Regions from separate parts of the Homo sapiens genome. Here all the other regions are linked to region 3. The links are contacts of gene promoters, found by promoter capture Hi-C in human tissues and cell types (Jung and others, 2019). All regions are on one chromosome and are shown on one strand. The core of a region is centred on a gene start or on the middle of the fragment in contact, and the rest is flanking DNA. Distances in the headings are between cores, read along the strand shown. Region 1 has its middle 100 kb from the start of ALX4. Region 2 overlaps EXT2 (exostosin glycosyltransferase 2). Region 3 holds the start of ALX4 (ALX homeobox 4).

What was found. Contacts are between HindIII fragments. The study calls those that stand out against the background at their distance.
Region 1: a contact is called between a fragment that was not itself captured here and the fragment with the promoter of ALX4 in region 3, in 4 of the 25 tissues and cell types used here (H1 embryonic stem cells, bladder, spleen and 1 more).
Region 2: a fragment that was not itself captured here is called in contact with the fragment with the promoter of ALX4 in region 3 in 2 of the 25 tissues and cell types used here (H1 embryonic stem cells and mesenchymal stem cells).

Annotation. Positions count from the first base shown.
Region 1 is chr11:44,411,921-44,415,017 of GRCh38, reverse strand. No RefSeq gene overlaps it. Among named protein-coding and RNA genes, the nearest start is that of ALX4, 100 kb to the right of the region's middle. RefSeq lists an enhancer at 1-875. The HindIII fragment of the contact is 5,501 bases long and covers 1-3,097 here.
Region 2 is chr11:44,193,820-44,196,814 of GRCh38, reverse strand. The region is part of intron 8 of EXT2 (exostosin glycosyltransferase 2); the gene reads right to left. Among named protein-coding and RNA genes, the nearest start is that of EXT2, 100 kb to the right of the region's middle. The HindIII fragment of the contact is 7,479 bases long and covers 1-2,995 here.
Region 3 is chr11:44,308,649-44,311,622 of GRCh38, reverse strand. ALX4 (ALX homeobox 4) reads left to right here and starts at 1,484. Exons shown (of 4, transcript NM_021926.4): 1 at 1,484-2,026. The coding sequence starts at 1,561. RefSeq lists an enhancer at 578-1,506. The HindIII fragment of the contact is 16,665 bases long and covers 1-2,974 here.

The sequences.
Region 1 (3,097 bases), core at 346-2,845, 100 kb before region 3:
GATTAAATTGTGCCCATCAGATTAAAGGTGAGTCTGCCTTCCCCAGCCCACTGACTCAAATGTTAATCTCTTTTGACAACACCCACACAGACACACCCAGGATTAATACTATGTGTCCTTCAATCCAATCAAATTGACCCTCAGTATTAATCATCACAAATGCCTTGAAGTTCATCAAAACCACCCTTTTACCCTTAGCCAAAACTCCACCAAGAAGCATCTGAGGAATGATCCTGTGGCACACATACCCAAAGTGACCCCTGCCCACCACCCATGAGCCATGTCCTTTTAGAATTCCTTCCCCTTGAGTGAAGGACACACCTGTGACGTGACTTTCTTCAACCAATAGGATGTTGCAAAGGAAAGGCGATGTCACTTCAATGATTATGTTTCATTATAAAAGACTCCATCTTAGCAGATTCGAGAAGGAGACTCCCTTGCAGGCTTTAAAGAAATAAAGTGTCATGTTGTTGTGGTGGGGATGCATATGGCAAAGAACTGGGTTGGCCTCTAGAAGCTGATAGCAGCTAACTGCTGACAGCCAGCAAGAAAATGGAGACATCAGTCCTACGGCCATAAGAAGATAAATTCTGCTGATAACCTCAGTGAGTTTGGAATGAGTCTTTCCTCAGCCAAGCTTCTGATGAGACTACAGCTCCAGCAACTTCTGGATTGAAGCCCAAGCAGAGGATTTAGCTAGACTGTGCCCAGACTATTGAGCCACAGAAACTGGGAGATAGTTTTGTGTGTGTTGGTTTGAGCCACTACGTTTGTGCTAACTTGTTCTGCAGCAATAGAAAACCAATGCAATCCTACTTTAAAAGATCTCTAAGAAAGGTAACCCCACCCAGTATCTTTTCATCCCCATACCTTCATAATATTCCACTCTGTACACAATTCTGCCAGTATGCATTTCTACCATGAAGCAAGATACCACTGGATTTTTACCTATAACTATCTGTGAAAATAAAAAATTCAGGTTTTACATTGAAGCAACTAGTTTAAGAAAATAGGGATTGATTGAAATTACCCAAGTACAAAGCCTGAAAAATATACATATACAGTTATTCTGGATCTGTAGGGGATTGGTTCCAGATCCCTGCAGATGCCAAAATCCAGAGATGTTCATGCCCTTTATATAAAATGGCATAGTATTTCTATCTACCTTAGGCACATCCTCCTGTATATTTTAAATCATCTCTAGATTACTTTTAATACCTAATACAATGTAAATGCTATGTAAATAGTTGTTACACTGTGTTTTTTATTGGTATTATTTTTATTATATTTTTCTTGCCTTTTTTCCCAAATATTTTCCATCCACTGTTAGTTGAATCTGCAGATGCAGAACCTGTGGATACAGAGGGCCAACAGTATGCATGTCCCGCTATGTATAACTTATATACACACACAAAATTCACATAAGCATTTTAAGTGTTAGGGAAAAAAGATAGTTCTTGAAATAATGAAGACTTGAAGAAAGGTTTCTACGTTACTGTTGCATATACATTTCTCTTAAACCTCTCTGTGCCTTACTTTATTCATTGCCAAAATGGCATCTTTCATTGCTAAAGTGGTCTGGGAGGGCTATGGTAAGAATTAAATAAGATAATAAATGTAAACTGGCACTTAGTGACATTCTTTAAGCGTTGGCTTTATTATTATCTTTTGTAACATGGACTGGGCTGGACTCTGAAACTGTCCTGGTCACCGAGATTGGGGTAACTGATATCCCTTTCTGCCCCAAGAAGACATACACTGGGGCCCTCATCTAGCCTATGGCAATCTGTCTGTGGTTCCTAGGCTTGGATTTGGTTAACTGTAGATTCAAGCCTCTGGCCAAGTCCCTTTTCCAGGCATCAGAAGTGCGGGGAAGGGTTCAACATACCCATTTCTGTCCCATGACCCACTGGGAGCAAGAAGATACCTGTCCTTAGGATGCTGAAAGCTATCAATGAGCCTGGAAACAATCAGAAAACTTTGATTGTAAATAATTAAAATCCAATTTGAATTTATTTAAGCAAAATTCAGGAAGTCCAAAGCACTTCTCAGTAATGAGGAATCAGGAATTCAAATATGTTCATTCTCCCCCTGCCCCATCTGTCTCTCTTCATCCTTTGTTCTGCTCTACTTTGCATTGGCCTCCTTTTCTCCTACTGAAGACCAGCTCCCTCCACTCAGCAGGAGAAAGGAAAGGGCCACAGCCACAAAGAATCCCAAGCTTATATTAGCTCAGCCCTTTGACTTGAGAAGACCTAGTGCGTCTCTTTTGAGCATCCTTGTGTAAAATCCCAGAGAGAACTCTGATAGGCCCTGTTTCCACCATATGATTACTCTTTGGACCAACCCTTGTAGACATGATTGGCTGTGTCTTTATGAGGCAAACACCCTTTGTTATCTACCAAGTATCCATTTCTGCTCTTCTTTACCCATTTCCTATTTTGAAGGCTGAAAAAATCGGAAACTCAACTTTCCCAGCTTTGCTTATAGTTGAGGGTAGCCAGACGGCTCCATTCTGCCAGTGAGTTGTAAGGGGAAGCATGCTGGTATACTCTGGGAAAGTCTCTCTCTGGTAAGAGCCAGGTTAGCAAGAAGAAAAGATGCTTCCATCCCTGCTTTTGAACATATTCATGATGCAAAAGCCACTGCAGCCCTCTTGCCACCATAAGCCAACAAACCTAAAGACAAAACTCCAACACAGTAATACCAGTAGAATAATAAAAATCTGAGTCTTTGATGATATTATTCAGCTGTTTCACCAAATTTCAGAGATCTCTGCTTCCAGATTTTGTTCTTATGGGAGACAATTACATGTCTTTATTGTTTAAGTTAGCTGTGCATTCTGTTACTTGGAAGTGAAAGCATTCTAACAGAGACACAACATCATATGTGAGCCACGGTACAAGGACAGGGGAAGGCTCTGGGATGGATATCTCTGCCAGAAGCACATGGAATAAAGAAGGTGATGTCCTTCAGGGGAACGGGAAAACATGTCACCAGTGAAAGGGAAAATAAAGAGATTATAGGCCAACAAATCAATAGCTGTCCCACTCCTGACACCAGGTCTCAACCTCCAAGGCAACACCTGCCTGTTTCA
Region 2 (2,995 bases), core at 455-2,954, 120 kb after region 3:
AAGTAACAGAAACAACAGAAGCAGCAGAAGGAAATTCAAACAGCATCAACAACAAATTGTAGCCACTGGCAGATAAGATTCTTCATCCATGAAACAAGAATAAATTGCTATTTTTATTTTAAAAGCTCTACCAAAGAACAGAAACAACTCTTCAACATTAAAAATATAATAGTTTAAATTATTTTTTGAGGGCAGGATTGCTACCTGGTTGGTCCTGTCAGTCGGGGGAAAAAAGGTCAGGATTGCAAGATAAAGATGACAAAATATTCCAGACTGGTGAACAAAAAGGCAGAGATGAAAAATAAGGACAGAGAAAATGAGAAAATCTAGAAGGTCCAACATCTATTTAATAGGAGATTCCAGAAAAGAAAACACAGACTATGGGAGAAGTAAATCTATCAAAGAAATTAAAGAAGTTCTCAGTACGTTAAGATATAAGAGGCATGAATTTTCAGATTGCAAAGGATTAACAGAAGCAGCACAGTGAATTTTTTAAAAAGACAAAAATAAAAAAACAAAAACCACTGCCATATCAAAGTGCATATTTCTGAACACAGAGAATAAAGAGAAAATGTTCACAATGTGTGAAAATAGGTGAGGAACATGTGAGTTCAATGTACAATTCTCAAAAGTTATCAGTTAAATGTGAAATGTTTTTAAAATAAAGTTTAAAAAGTGATGAAAGAAAGTCAATCTCTTTGCTACCATTAAAATATTAAGTACTTTTAATACAGCAATGTAAGCAAAAATATTTTTGCACTGATAATAATTAAGATTATTTAAATGTTCTTATATATTTTACCAGCTTTATTAGGATATGATTCATATACCATACAATCTACCCACTTAAAGCATATAATGGTTTTGGTATATTACATTGTTCACTTTTAAAAATTGTGGTAAAATATATATAATATTAAATTTGCCATTTTAACCATTGTTAAATGTGTAATTCGGTGGCATTAATTACATTCATATTCATATGTTATCATGCAAAAAGCCCAGGACTGAATTCCATCTTTGCCAGAAGGTGGCTGAGAATGAAATGTCCTATCTGCTATTATGGCTGCTGCATACTTCCCTAGTCTTTTATACTCTGGGATTGCCAAGGTTCCCTATCAATCTCATCCATATCACTGATGGACACCCATCACCAACTTTGTGACAACAGCTGTCTGCCAGATGTAACAGTGTGGGATGAGAAATGCACACAAACCCATGGAATACATATGGGATGGAAACTCAAAGAAGCTGAATGGGATTCCTAGGGTCCTAATGTAATCAGGATATTAAAGCCAAAATGTCCACAACATGCTATAATTAGATTTCACAACCAAGAGACACAATAGGAAACGCCATCTTTTCTTTTTCTTTTTTTTTTTGAGACAGAGTTTCACTCGTTGCCCAGGCTGGAGTGCAATGGTGCAATCTCGGCTCACCTCAACCTCCGTCTCCCGGGTTCAAAAGATTCTCCTGTCTCAGCCTCCCAAGTAGCTGGGATTACAGGCATGCACCACCACACTGGGCTAATTTTGTATTTTTAGTAGAGACCGGGTTTCTCCATGTTGGTAAGATTGGTCTCGAACTCCCGACCTCAGGTGATCCACCTGCCTCAACCTCCCAAAGTGCTGGGATTACAGGTGTGAGCCACCGCGCCCGGCCAGGAAAGGCCATCTTTTCAATGTTGATCTTCTGTTTCCATGACATCACACTTTGATATTAAGCTGTAGTCTTAGGAAGGTGCCTGGATTTTAGTATTTGTACCTTAGCAACTCATTGTACTTCTAGAAACCTTTTTGAGTTTTCTACCCCAAATTTTATTCTTCATCTCTTCCTGACCTTTATGGAAACTGAAGTCAGAAAGTAGCCCTATATTTAAGTCATAATTAATCCCCAGGGACCGTTCATGGTCTATGTGCCATCACTATCCCCAACCCACTCACCTAACCCTCTTGACACAATACTCACTAATGCCTGCTTGAAAAACACCATTTTAAGTGGAAAAGAAACAAAAAGATTCCTTTAAAAAAGTGTATAAAATGATTTAATGTGTGATATTGAAACAGTCAAGATTTACTGAGTACTTACTAAGTGCAAAATACTGTGCTTTACATGTATTACCTCATTAGATATTCACAACAACCCCCAAGATAGATACGGTTATTGTTCTCACTTTACAGATGAGGAAACTGTAGAACTAGAAATAGCAAATGATGTTCAAGGCTATATAACCTGTAAGTGATGGAACTGAGATACAACTCAAGCAATCTGATTTCAGAACACCAGACGGTAATGGTTCACAGCCCTTCCCTATGCCCTCCTACATACATACCCAAACTGGGTATGCATTACCATTTTATAGACTTTGGAAAATTCAAGTGTGGGGAACTCCAGAGTTTGCTACTTCTAGCTCTTTTCTAAGACAAAAATCCTAAAAGTTCTTGATCCTTGTTAATAAAATCTGGGCCAATAAGCAAGAACCCACCCCAAACACTATGATTTCAGAAAGTCTATGGAATAAAAACACACCGAATATATAACACTGACACAAAGTGTGCACATAAATTTAAAAAGGTAAATACACCACTAAAACAGAAGGAAAAACTATTAAAACTCCAACAGAATGAGGTCTGTTCTTTGGGAGAAGAGGGGAGAATGCCAACACACTTAAATGTCTTTATGACATTAAGAAGAGAGGAAAATTCCCTAAGAGATGCAAAGCTTAGGCTCACAAAACGAATGCCTTGGCATTTAAACTGAGGCAGCCCTGAAAGGCATCGCAGCTCTGATTTCAAGGAGCTGCCAGGGACATGGAACCAGAGTCGCTGGCAAGACAACAGATCGGGTCTCATCCCACATGCCAGCTCCACTTGGGAAGTGAATCGGTAGGGGAGGAGGAAGGACAGGAAGGAATGGTTGGCTGGGAAGTGGACAGTAACTTTTCTTAATGTTGTTTTTCCCCACTGCCCACTTGCATCCCAAATAGGGCTTGAGT
Region 3 (2,974 bases), core at 235-2,734:
ACCATTCCACAGCCGGGGGCCAGTTTCCCCTCTGCATCTACGCTGTCCGCACGGCCTTCCAGGTCGGTGGAGGGACTAGCCTGAGCAGAGGTTCCAGGGCGCGACGGCTATTTCCCAGCTGTGTGACCTGGACCAGGTGGCCGCCCCTCTCTGAGCCTCCGTTAGCTCATCAGAAAATTGGGGGCGCCAATCTCTAGCACGGTTGTCATGAAGCGAAATCGAGGGGCTGCACGCGCAAAGTTTTTTCCCTTGCTGTGGCGGTGCCAGGGGCCTTGAGGCTCGCAGTGGTGGTGAAACCACAACCTATCAAAACCAAGCAGTTCGTTTTACAGTCGGGGGCAGTGAGGCCAGAAAGGGAAGAGACGGTCTCACCCCTCTCCCCGACCCCTGACCCCAAGGAGTGAACAGGTGACAGCGCGACTATCGGGCAAGGTCAGGGGGTCTCCAGAGTCCGCTCTCTGTACTTCGCCTGGCAGGAAATCCCCTCGCCTGGGCGCAGACGTGGGGCGTGAACGGTGCGGCCTCTAGACGGGAGCGCAGAGGGCAGCGCTCTAAAGCTTCTGAAGCCGGGCCCAGCCCAGGGCTTCTCCAGGGCTTGAGGGAGCACAGATTCCGCTACATCCCAGCCCAGCGCCCTTACAGCAGAGGGAAATAGTTAACAAGACGTGCAAGTGACCATGCACTGGACGACGAAGGCTTGTGTGTGTGTTAATCTCCCGTAGGAACGGGAATGGGGAGGAAGGTTGGAAACCTAGGAAAAGGTGCCAGCGGGAAGGCCCGCAGCGGCGCCCGCGAGCTCGCGCGCAGGAGTCCGTAGGACTCGCTTGCATCCGCAGGCCCGTGGTCCCCCTGGCTTCGAATGTCAAAACCTGTTAGGTTTATTTTGGGGGGCTTTTTTTTAACCTGTCATTAAAATTTGCATTTCCCTTTGCCCTAAGGCAAAGCTCCGACACCCCGCCAATTCTCAGCCTAGCCTCGGGAGCCCTGGGGATCCTGGCATCTCCCCAGCCCCGCCTAGAATCGGAAAAGCCCTCGGGCGCCTCCGGGTTGAATCCCCGCTAGCGAGTTAGTAGCATCTCCTTAAGAGTGGAGAGGAGGGGGCAGGGGCCAGTGGAAGGAGAGAGGAGGAGGGGACGAGAGAGGGGGAAAGGAAGAAGCAAGGCAGGGAAAAAAATTTACTTATTTTTTTTTTCCGCTGCAAAACCTTAAGAGGGTTTGGGAGATCTGGTCAACTTTCCGAAACATCTGAATCTTTTTACTGCCCTCCGTTCTTTCCCTCGGCTAGCTGTGGGGAGGGAGGAAAGAGAGAGAGGGAGAGAGAGAGGAAGGGGGGGGGAGGGAGGGGAAGAGAGAGAGAGGAGGGAGAGAGAGGAGAGAGACAGAGAAAGAAGAGGGGGAGAGAGAGAGAGGCCGGCGTGGAGGGGAGGAGGGAGAGCGAGCAGGCCGGGCAAGGAGTGCACAGCCACAGCCTCCTCGCCTCCCCAAACTCCCAGCCAAGGCGCGCGGTGGCGTCCTCGCGCCCTCGCTCGCGTCCCCGCCCGCCGCCTGCGCAAGCCAGGCATGAATGCTGAGACTTGCGTCTCTTACTGCGAGTCGCCGGCCGCTGCCATGGACGCCTACTACAGCCCGGTGTCGCAGAGTCGGGAGGGCTCGTCGCCTTTTAGGGCATTTCCCGGAGGCGACAAGTTCGGCACAACTTTCCTGTCGGCCGCCGCCAAAGCACAGGGATTCGGGGACGCCAAGAGCCGGGCCCGTTACGGCGCTGGGCAGCAGGACCTGGCGACACCCCTGGAGAGTGGAGCTGGGGCGCGGGGCTCCTTTAACAAGTTCCAGCCCCAGCCGTCGACCCCGCAGCCCCAGCCGCCGCCGCAGCCGCAGCCGCAGCAGCAGCAGCCGCAGCCCCAGCCGCCCGCGCAACCGCATCTTTACTTGCAGCGAGGCGCCTGCAAGACGCCCCCGGACGGCAGCCTCAAACTCCAGGAAGGCAGCAGCGGCCACAGCGCGGCCTTGCAGGTTCCCTGCTACGGTGAGTGCACGTGCGGGTCACCTGGTGCTGGGGACCACGGGGTGCTTGGCTTCCGCATCCCTTGAAACTGGTGGCTTGCGGGAGGTATGAGTTGGCGGGCTGGGGGCGGGGTGGTGACTCTGGTCGGTAAACGGGATCGATCGCTGCGAGGGAGCCAAGGGATCTGTTCTGTCTCCTTCTTGTCCGCCGGCCTAGGCACGGAGCGTTTCGGCTGTTAAACTCGACTTGGAGTTTGTTTTTCCCGGTCCCTTCGGCATTTCCCCAAACCGCTCGCTTTGCGCTGCCCGCTGGGCGGGATTTGAAGCGGATGCTTCTTACCGGCCCAGGGCGTGCGGCGGCAAGGAGTCTCCGCGCAGCGCTCTGGCGCTGGGCTGCGGGGCTGCGGGGCTGCGGGGCTGCGGGGCTGCGGGGCTGCGAGGCTGCGGGGCTGCGGGGCTGCGGGACAGCAGGACTGCAGAAGCCTCGCTCCTCGCCGGCTGGGAGGCTCCTCGGGCGGCGCCGCCGCAGGTGAGAGCGCCGCAGGTGCGGAGCCAGGCGGGAAGCCCGGAGCGTGGTTGGCCGAAAGCTCACGGGAAATCCAGGCGCACTGGCGCAACACAGTGCGGAGCCAGAGACCCTAGGGTCCCAGGGGACACTGTGGTCTGGCAAGACCCGAGTCCTGGGACCCTGAGCGCTACTGGCAGTGGGGATGCGGGCAGGCCAGTTCCCCTGGAGCTTCTCCCTCGGCGATTCTTGGAGGCGGCAGGCCTCTGAACAATGGTTTAGGACAGAGTAGGAAGGGAGACAGGAAGTCCCGAGTCCCAGGTGGCCCAGAGCTGTGGCAAGAGAGAAGGGTCTGGGTCCTGATTTGAGCCCACGGGGAACCCGGGGGAGCTGGCCTAAATGACCTCCAAGCTGCCTTGAACGCAGCCACAGGAGGCAGGCCTGGGCCCCCCAGAGCACAGCCAC